2 separate regions of the Homo sapiens genome follow, and region 1 is linked to region 2. Evidence: promoter capture Hi-C in 16 types of primary human blood cells and fetal thymus (Javierre and others, 2016). All regions are on one chromosome and are shown on one strand. Each heading gives the region's core, a stretch centred on a gene start or on the middle of the fragment in contact. The rest is flanking DNA. Distances are from core to core; before and after follow the strand shown.

Region 1 (5,628 bases), core at 91-2,590, 530 kb before region 2:
TGCCTGTAATTCTAGGATTTTGGGAGGCCAAGGTGGGTGGATCACTTGAGATCACGAGTTCGAGACCAGCCTGGCCAACATGGTGAAACCCCGTGTCTACTAAAAATACAAAAACTAGCCAGGCGTGGTGGTGGGCACCTGTAGTCCCAGCTACTCAGGAGGCTGAGGAAGGAGAATTGCTTGAACCCAGGAGGCGGAAGTTGCAGTGAGCCAAGACAGTGCCATTGCATCCCAGCTTGGGCAACAAGAGTAAAATTCCGTCTCCAAAAACAAAAAACAAAAAATCAAAGAGAAAGTAGAATGATGGTTGTCCCCAGGGCCTGGGGGAGGGAAGAATGGCAAGTTAGTGTTTAACAGGTAGGTAGAGAATTTCAGTTTTGCAAGAGGAGAAGAGTTCTGTGGTGGATGGATGGTGGTGAAGGCTGCAAAACAACGTGAATGCACTTAACACCACAGAACTATACACTTAAAAATTATTACAACAGTCAATTTTATGTTACATATACCTTACCACAACTTAGAAAAAAAAAAGATTGTCTTGTGGCTTACAAAAAGCAAGAGAGTGCTCATCTCCTCTTCTTTCGAACATTCTTATATCTAATAGTGCATCAAAACAGCTTTTCTCGGGTTAAGACAAGAGAATAATTCTGGGGTAGTCCTCATATGGAAGGTGCTGCATAATATAGTCAACATCTAAAAAATTCCAAGTACAAACATCCAAACCCAAAATTTACAGCAAAAGAGACAGATGGAATTATTTCAACAACTGTGAGAAAGGCAAGAAATAAACAGAACTATTGGTATGTTTAAGTATCAATTTAGGACTCTATAAGCTAATTTCTAAAGAGACAAGAAAGTCCACGGAAAAAAATGATTGGTCCATGTAGAGTAGATTTCATATATCAGAGTCAAGGTCTCACAAAACAACTTTACTGTTTTGAAACTTTAAAGAAGTGTCAACTTGCATTAAATAAACAAAGCAACTGCCATGTACTAAACAAAAATGTCACAAATGACAGTCCTGTATAATGACCTGGTTTCCCAGTGGCTCAGAAAGATGGAAAATAAACCCCAAGGACCCTAGTTCAGACAGACTGAAGAGAGCAGACCGTGGCTGTCTTGCATGATTAAAGGCTATGTCACAGCTCAGTAGGGTCCATGCTTTCATAGCTTCCCCCCCCCAGCAACCCCTAATGTGACTAGGACTGGGACAAGAGTGACAGTCTCACAAAGGGGATAAAAAGACATAAAGCTTCTTCCTCATACATCCAAACACTCCAGAATCTAAAACTTCACTTCTCTGTTGTCCATCTATCCAATTTTCATTAAGAGCAATTTATATCATATAGAGGCTTCAAAGTCAAATATGCCACTTTTATTTTTACCTTATCAAACCTATAAAATCAAGACCAAGGGTTGGTCTGGATATGAAGCTTGGTTAGGATCACAATAAATTTTCAAATCAAATAATTGGTTTCAGTTAGAGCCAAGTTTATCAACAATAGGGTGATTTAGGATTCAGGAAAAATCGGCTGCCTATTTGTATTTCAGAAAGACTAGTATTTCTTCTGACACAAGTAGAGAGGTGTAAGCAACCTCTGGGTGGGTAATGCCACCAAACAAAAGCAACACCTTCAAAGTCTCTCAGTGACTAGAGGCAGCCAGACACTCAAACTGCCAGTCCTGAATTACGGCCTCTGAATGGTGAGGGCTTCACATTTCACCGATCAGGGCACAGCCCAATCAGAAGACAAACCCCTGCACTGCCAGGGACCAGCAAATCCGCTTTCTTCCAGTGTGCACATGACTAAATGTGCTTCTGTCCATCATCTGGGTCATATATAGTTCAATGCGAGCTGAGCAGACAGGGCTGCAAGGAAATCTGGCGCGGTTCAATACCTCGTCTAGCCTGGGTTCCAGTATCTAATTTTTTTTTTGTTTTAACTGACAAACTCATTTCTCTACTGGGACAGGATGCTGTGCTGGCTGGAAGTTCCATTTCTACAGCAAGAATCCTATCTGGAAACACAGAAGTTGTCCTCTAGCCACAGCAGCTCGAACTTTTTTGATTGTCGTTGCTGCTTTCTCCCATCACCCCCATCCCCTTTTGACAAAGATCCAACTGTAAAAAGTCTTACGTAACAGTTCAGGACTACTTCGGTTCTTTTACTGGGTAAGCACTTTCAATTTTTTTTTTTTAACTAAAAGCCATTTTAAAATTGAATCTGTTGAGGGGCTTGACTAAAATCTTTTAAGTAATTTGTGTAATGGAATACTGTCAGTGGATTTTTTCGTCTCATTTCTGCACGTGCTCCTTTGTTCTCAGAACAGAAGCTTTTTATACACATCCCATAACGCAGCTGGAGAGAGTTATGAAGTCAGTTATTATAAGGAACACAAAGGTTGCTTTCCATTCTTTGCCTTTAGATAATTAATTTTTTTGTTTTCTTAAAATGGAGTATTTAAAGAAGGAAGAAATTCACAAGAAATAAACTGTTGGAGAATTTAGAAAAGTTTGAAGTTTTTACCACCTTTTCTATCTCTAGTTTTGTGTGGCCAAACACTTGTGCCGCCTGGGGCGGTGGGGGTAGAGGCAAGCATAGACAGAGAGGAACTAAGCCAGACATGGACAAAGGCACGAGCCAAAACCAGACAGTCCTGGCCGTTCGATAGGCCAGCAGTGGGTGAGACAGGTCAGCCAGCTGCAGGGGCGGGAGCGGGGGGGCGGGTAGGGACATGGATGTGTGAGGTGCTCATGCGTGCGATCGTGACTAGATTCTGAAACTGCCAGCCATTTTCCCAGCTCCGCTTTGTGCAATCTAAAGGAATGCATCCCCTCTGAAGCAGTCTTGCCAGAGCCTAGTGAGGGAGAGAAGTATGGTAAATACCACAACATATGGAATCAGAAAATACCGGGAACTGGAGTGGGCAAGGGGGAATGCAGAGGGTGTGGAAATTTTTTAGTGATCTGGAATGTGTTGAGTGACAGGAAGTGCCCCAAGCTTCTCCCCCACCAACTCTTCTCAGTCGCGCCTGCTTTTGTCTAACTCTTGTAATCTACACACTACTGCTTACAAAGCTGTCTGAGTTTAAGACAAAAAGAAACCTAAAAGTCTCCTTACTTCATAGTACCTGTGATATGGAAGGAATGTAAAAGCATGACCCTTTAAGCCTATGGACATTTTTTCAGGTATACAGGAGAAAGATAAAATAATTTTCCACAGAAAAATGAGAATTATGAATTATATAGTTCAGGTTCCAAATCTAATTTTTAAAAGAATTCTGATTCTGCTACACTTTACAAATGCTTAGGTTGGTTCCTAATTTGAAGCAGACTTGTTTTATTTGGTTAATGCATTGCATTTGAACTTGTTTCTATTTTCTTTGCATAAATTTGGACTTTGGGAGAAAAATGCAAAGTAATAAGTAGAATGCACTTGGGGGAAAAAAGGAGGATTTTTCCCTTCATGGGTTGGAAAGTATTTTAAAGGGTTGTTTTCTTGAAAAAACAAGCTCTCTCTTACTTTCTGCATCTATGCTATAAAGATAACTATGCTATAATAAATGTAAGGTAGAAAACTTTAAAGAGAAAATAACAGTGTTCTAAGTGAAAAGCTACTTAGCATTTTCCCAAACTTACACATTATCAACAGAAACACTAAAAATTAAGAGAAAAGCAGCCAACTAATTAAATAGCTAGCCTTATTTTGGGGGTATGGGATAGAAAATTAAGTGTGAATAAAATGATACTTGGGAATGTTTCTCCCTCGTACCACAAAGGATGTTAGTGGTCAGCCTACGAGTTAATCCTTCCTAGCATGGCTCTGAGCCTTCATGCCGAGCAGACGTTATTCACATGACGATTCGAAAAGTCCATTCATATATCTCGCTACCTGGATTTGAATAGAAACCAGACAGCAATTCTTTAGTTCCAGCCACCATTCGCCCCACTGGACAATAGCGATTTGTTAGCACAGAGTCACAGGCTGTGGGACACAAAGCTTGGAGCTGCAGAAAGATGGGGGATTCAGAGAACAGGAAATTACAGGCTCGATGCACTCCTGGCAGCTCTGAGAATACAAAAAAAAAAAAAAAAAAAAGGCAACACAGAGATGCCATGTTTAAGAGCTACTTCTAGCTTTTTTAACCACCTCCAATGTCATAAAAGCTCTATTGTTGGAGTACATAAAGTCACGAGTCCCATGTGCTCGCTTTTCTCACTACAGGGAACTTCATTCAATGCCCTTGGCACAGTAAGAAATATCAAAAGCATCCAGAGTTGATTAGCTGTACACTCTGGTAGAAAGGAGAGCATTTTATAAATAAAATGTCAGGAAAAAAATACGCTTAGTAACACAAGTGACATGTAATAAAATTAGTATCTTTTTAAAATTCCAAAAGAAAATAATTAAATACATCAAAACTCGAGGGACATTAATTTCTCTCCAAAATATCACATAAAATCTATTATTTAATTCCATCAAAAGTTTCTTTAGAATATATATACCAATTTAGAGGCTAGCATTATACAGAAAACTTCCGAGTTCTGGGTTGTATTTTCCAAAACAAAGAATTAAAATCAAAGCCCCAAGAATTTATTCTGGAATACTAGAAAAAAAAACTACACTTTATTATCAAATTAGTGTAGCTCCCTGGCTAAATCAGAAATTGCCTCTACTTCCTTAAGACCTAAAAAATAAATTTAATGGATATTCTAAGTGAATGAGGGAGAGATACTTCTCCAATCTCAAGAAACGAGCAGGGGGAAACAGTACATGGATTCTTGTCCAGGCCCTCATGCTGCAACCTGAGCACCAACAGGCCAGACTGGTGTCCATTTCAACAGGAGGAGGAGACCCTGCACAAGGAAGCTATAAATGGTTTTGCTCTTCTGCCCTTCTTCTGTGATCCATTAGTAAACACAAGTTCGAAATGATATCATATCTGAAAGATTTATCAAATGAGACCATGAATGGTCAAAAAAGGCTTTGGAAACATCAATTATTCTAATCTATTTGGTCCCATGATAATACGGTGTGAAGCTGAACACGTGCCAGATTTAATGGTGCTGGTAAACATAATAGCAACCTTTAAGCTACCAACAATTGGGCTTCCTCAAATACTATTATTACTCACCAAACACAAACATCAGTTACTATCCCAAAGTGCGTTGTCCAATACAGTAGCAACTAGCTCTATGTGGCTATTTTGATTTAAATTAATCAAAATTAAATAAAACAGAAAACTCAGTTCTTTAGTTATACACACCACATTTCAAGCACTCAATAGCCTCATGTGACTATCATATGGGATAGCCCAGATATAAGACATTTCTATCACTGCAGAAAGTTCTACTGGACAGTGCTGATCTGGGCTATGCTTATATCCAGCATACCCATCTTCAACTACACATCCAGCTGGACATGAAAAAATTTAAGTAAAAAATACAATGACAAGTATGACAAGATAGCTAGTGCCATAATACTTGAGAAATACCTTTAAAAAAAAAAAAAGCATTTGAAACCAAGGATGAGAAAAGAGGTCCAGGTCCATTTTTTTCCCCCTTGGTTGCAATGAAGAAGTTACAAAGAATATTAGATAGTACTGGAAGACAGGTAGTCATGGCCA
Region 2 (5,343 bases), core at 1,123-3,622:
CTACCACCATGCTCGGCTAATTTCTGTGTTTTTAGTAGAGAGGGGGTTTCACCAAGTCGGTCAGTCTGGTCTCAAACTCCTGATCTCAAATGATCTGCCCACCTCAGCCTCCCCAAGTACTGAGATTACGCCACTGTGCCCTAGACACATTTTCATAAAAAGCAACATTTTATTCATCATAAACACAAAGTTCAAAAAAGCTTTATGCATGATAAATAAGAAGAAAAAATTCCATGTCAATTCACTGACATGCAATAGTCAACCTCACCTATGGGATTAATAATGCTACTAAGAGGTCTGGTTAGTTTTCCATGAATTGGGTCCCAATGCTAGTTGTATTCTTATTCCCTTAAAAAAACCACATAGCAGAAAGAAGCCACAAAAGGAATGTCTGAAGGACTCAGATGAGCACAAATGCTACATTACTACTAACGAAGGCTGTCCTTATTTGAAATTATTCTATTAAAAACGGGAAAATGCACAAGAATGACTCCCCTATCATATGCCACATAAAATTAACAGGTAAGTACAATTCAGTCACATTCACAACAGCACGTGTGGCCTCAAATATTATGCATACTTGTTGACTGATGTTAAGTATCAACTTACTGTACAAAGAAGAAATAAAACAAAACCCACAGTAATATATTTCCTTAAGAATACACTGAGTCGGGGCTGGGCACGGTGGCTTACGCCTGTAATCCCAGCACTTTGGGAGGCCGAGGCGGGCGGATCACGAGTTCAGGAGATCGAGACCATCCTGGCTAACACGGTGAAACCCCGTCTCTACTAAAAATACAAAAAATTAGCCAGGCGTGGTGGCGGGCACCTGTAGTCCCAGCTACTCGGGAGACTGAGGCAGGAGAATGGCGTGAACCCGGGAGGCGGAGGTTGCAGTGAGCCGAGATGGTGCCACCGCACTCCGGCCTGGGCGACAGAGCGAGACTCCGTCTCAAAAAAAAAGAATACACTGAGTCGGTTAAATACTAGCACGAGCTGATAAGCACTGCTAGAAACCTAAGCTCTGATTTCAGCAAATGCATAGAAACACTTTTCAAAGAAGCAGTATACCTAGGCCGGCGCGGTGGCTCACGCCTGTAATACCAGCACTTTGGTAGGCCGAAGCGGGCGGATCACTTGAGGTCAGGAGTTCAAGACCAGCCTGGCCAACATGGCGAAACCCCGTCTCTACTAAAAATACAAAACAGCCGGGCGTCGTGACGGGCGCCTGTAATTCCACCTAGTCGGGAGGCTGAGGCAGGAGAATCGCTTGAACCCGGGAAGTGGAGGTTGCAGTGAGCCAAGATCGCACCGCTGCACTCCAGCCTGGGTGACAGAGTGAGACTCTATCTCAGTTAAAAACAATAATAATAATAATAATAATAATAATTAAAAAGTTTTAAAAAAGAAAAGCAGTATACCAAAGTCATTCCTTTACCCATACATACATTTACTCTTACTTGGACTCAGGAGTAACAAGGAACTCACCTCCTTTAGAAAACGAAGAAAATGAAATACTGAGTTAAGAAGGGGTTAAGGAGAAAGTATTTGTATTTATTGAGAACCAACTACTTTATCCACTTCAGTAAGCTCAACAACATACTCAGAAACGGGATTCACCTCTGAATTAGCAAAACCGACGATCCTAAAAAGCAATTTGGAGGAGTGGCAATGAAGAGGGACGACCTGACGTTCGCTCCCGCCAGTACCAAACCACTCGGGCCCACCGCCTTCCCCTTCCTCAGAGACCTAAACACACTGAGGCCGCGTTCCGGTAGCCGGTGGCATCTCCTGTCAGACGCCGGCCACTCCGCGCTCCTGTCACCTCCGGTGGAGGCGACCCCATCCCGAGGGCACTGCCGCGGGGGCTCGGCTCCGACTGCGGGAGACCCAGGGATGGGGTGGGGAGCCGAGCCTTCTAAATAAAGCTGTTACAGCTGCGGGTCCTGGGGCAGCCCGAAGGCCAGAAGGGGCGACCCTGGGACAGAGGCCGCGACATCCCTCGGGATCCCCACTGAGGCAACCGGGACAGCATTCGACGACTCGGCTCGCGAGACCCTCGGCGTGACGCCGGGTAGGACCGGGTCGACTGGCAATGGGGGAGGCCCTCCACCGCGACTGGACTGGATACCCGGCGGGGGTCCTGGAGAAAGGAAGGGCCGGCCGGCGGGCGCCCCACAGCCGGAAGGGGCGAGCCCGCAAATAGGGCTCACCTTCAGGTCGTTCTCTGGCAGGTACTTGCACAGCCGCGCTATTTCCACATACTTGTCCAGGTCTAGCGGCGCCATTTTAAGAATAACAAGCCGCGGCAACAGCGGCGGCGGCGGCTGTAGCAGCGGCGGCGGCAGCGGCGGAGGCCGAAGCCGGAACTTTCCCTGCGTCACGTCCGGCCCGTGAGTGGCGCCTGCGCAGCGCCGTTAAAGCGCGACCCGTTTCTCCCCGCTACGTCGGTACGCCCGGCGCCCCCTCTGGCTGAACCCCGACTGCAGGCCCCAAGAGAGCCCGCTTCGGTCCACCCCGCGAAACCTGCTGGGACCCGTAGTCGTCTGCCGCGGGGGTGCTGGGATGTGTAGTTTTCTGTTGTGGACAGCCACCCCTCTCTTTTCCTCCCGTTCCTCCAGACTTTCACCTCCCGGCAGCCGGCGAGGCTTTTCCGAGGCAAAACAGCGGAGTAGGTGGTCCTAGCCACTCACTGGTTTGTTTTTCCAACCCTTTTAAGCACTCTCCAGAATATCTTCACTTAACAATTGGGTAAGCCTGGCCGTAGTAACCGTTTGCACCTTTCCAAGTCCCTGTGAAAACCTCGCCTAAGCCTGTGGCAGAGATGTCAGGCCCCAGTCTTCCAGCCTGAAAGGAAGGGAAACGAATATTATTAAAGCATTTCTGATGCTAAATGCGATACAAATGATATTTTTCCTTTTAATCTTCGTAACGATTGATAGGAAAGTGAGGCTAGGAAACTGCAGTTCACCCCAAATCTCACAGGGAACAAAATGGTGGGGTCAAGATTGAAAAATGGCTTAAGCTTAAGCATGCTTCCAGTGAGAATCCCACGAGGGCAGGGAGTTTTTTGCTGTAACTCCAGCACCGAGAACAGTACCTGGTACTAGCATACCTTCAGCGTTCGTTTATCCAACCACTCTTTGCTGAGCAACAAAGATGTGCCAGGTACAGCTCAAGGCGCTTGCAGTACTTCGTGAACAAAATAGACAAAGATCTCTATTCTATCTGTAGCTACAAAAAGTACCAAAATTAGCCTGGCGCGGTAGTGCGTGCTTGTGGTCCCAGCTACTCTGGAGGCTGAGGCAGGAGAACCGCTTGAGTTGGGAGGCGGAGGTTGCAGTGAGCTGAGATCGCGGCACTGCACTCCAGCTTGGGCGACAGAGCGAGATCCTCCTCAAAAATAAATTAGTAAAAGGAGCTGCTGTATGGGACTAGGGGTGGGGGTGCAATGCCTATAGCTAAGAGACCAGTTAAGAGACTGTTATGTAATCCAATAGTAGCAGGCGCTCAATAAATATTTGTTGCTCAAGAGACCCTGGAATTAATCCTCTTGCTCTCTAAAGTATATTTTGTGGACAATTGGCTAACCCTGAATGAGATATCTGGGTGAACTTCTTTGTATTATTCTTGTAACTCCTCTGAAAGTATGAAATTGTTTCAAAGTAAAATTAATTTTTAGAAGTTTGTTGCAGAATGAATGATGCCCACAAGCATTCATTTCTTCATTCATTAAACTAATAGTTACATAGTGCCTATTGGCCAGGCCGCGGTGGCTAATGCCTGTAATCTCAGCACTTTGGGAGGCCAAGGCAGGCAGATCACCTGACGTCAGGAGTTCAAGACCAGCCTGGCCAACATGCCGAAACCCCATCTCTACTAAAAATACAAAATACTGGGGAGGCTGAGGCAGGAGGATCACTTGAATTGCTTGAGGCAGAGGTTGCAGTGAGCTGAGATGGCGCCACTGTACTCCAGCCTGGGCCACAGAGTGAAACTCCATCTCAAAGAGAAAAGAAACCAGAGGTTACACAGTGCTTATGATGTGAATAAAACAGATATGATCCCTGCCCTAATCAGGCTTACAATCTGCTGGGAAGAGACAAACAGTATTTATTTATTTATTTACATTTACTGGTTTATTATTAATATAAAGGATATTACAAAGGATACAAATGAAGAGATGCATAGGGTGAGGTAATTAAAATTTTTGTTTTTGTTGAGGCCGGGTGCAGTGGCTCAAACTTGTAATCCCAGTAGTGAAGCCAAGGTGAGCAGATATCTTGAGGCTAGGAATTCAAGACCATCCTGGCCAACATGGTGAAACCTGATCTCTACTAAAAATACAAAAATTAGCTGGGCATTGTAGCACATGCCTGTAATCCCAGCTACTCCGGAGTCTGAGGCATGAAAATTGCTTTGAGGTGGGGGTTACAGGGAGCTGAGGTCGTGCCACTGCACTCCAGCCTGGCCAACAGAAAAAAAAAAAAAATTGTTGAGGTGAGGTCTTGCTGAGGCTGGTTTTAAATTCCTGGCCTCAAGCTATTCCGCTGCTTTGGCCTCCCAAAGTGCTGGGATTATACGTGTAAGCCACCATACCTGGCAGTGAGCAAATATTTAATTGCAAATTGTGATTAGTACTCAAAAGGGAAAATAGGAGGTACTATAAGCAAGAAAAATGGAGTAGACGAGGTCTACCTTTGGCTGGGCACAGTGGCTCACGCCTGTAATCCCAGCATTTTGGGAGACCGAGGCGGGCAGGTCTTTTTGAGGTCAGGAGTTCCTGACCAGCTGAGATCCCACCACTGCACTCTAGCCTGGGAGAGAAAGTGAGACCCTGTCTAAAAAAAAAAAAAAAACAAAAAACTACATTTTCTTACCTGTACTTGTGTCCTTTGGGGGAAAAAAAAGGGCCCAGCATGGTGGCACACGCCTGTAATCCCAGCACTTTGGGAGGCCGAGGCGGACGGATCATGAGGTCAGGAGTTTGAGACCAGCCTGGTCAATATAGTGAAACCCTGTCTCTACTAAAAATACAAAAAATTAGCCGGGTATGGTGGTGTGTGCCTGTAATCTCAGCTACTTGGGAGGCTGAGGCAGGAGAATTGCGTGAACCTGGGAGATGGAGGTTGCGGTTGCAGTGAGCTGAGATAGCGTCATTGCACTCCAGCCCGGGTGACAATGCAAGGCTCCGTCTTAAAAAAAAGAAAAAGAAAAAAAGAAAGAAAGAAAAAGAAAAACTTAGCCTGGTGTGGTGGCACGTGCCTGTGATCCCAGCTACTCAGGAGACTGAAGCAGGAGAATCACTTGAACCTGGGAGGCAGAGGTTGCAGTGAGCCGAGA

Evidence for each region. The method cuts DNA at HindIII sites, captures the fragments that hold promoters and counts their contacts. A CHiCAGO score of 5 or more calls a contact.
Region 1: a contact is called between a fragment that was not itself captured here and the fragment with the promoter of PPP6C in region 2, in 1 of 17 cell types (fetal thymus). The highest score is 6.7, in fetal thymus.

What each region holds. Positions count from the first base shown.
Region 1 is chr9:124,656,569-124,662,196 of GRCh38, forward strand. All of the region lies in intron 2 of NR6A1 (nuclear receptor subfamily 6 group A member 1), which reads right to left. MIR181A2HG (MIR181A2 host gene) reads left to right here and starts at 1,868. Exons shown (of 2, transcript NR_038975.1): 1 at 1,868-2,173. RefSeq lists enhancers at 1,915-2,034, 2,856-2,905. The HindIII fragment of the contact is 181 bases long and covers 1,251-1,431 here.
Region 2 is chr9:125,187,431-125,192,773 of GRCh38, forward strand. PPP6C (protein phosphatase 6 catalytic subunit) reads right to left here and starts at 2,373. Exons shown (of 7, transcript NM_002721.5): 1 at 2,214-2,373. The coding sequence starts at 2,288. RefSeq lists enhancers at 1,695-2,481, 2,482-3,268, 2,571-2,650. The HindIII fragment of the contact is 2,825 bases long and covers 199-3,023 here.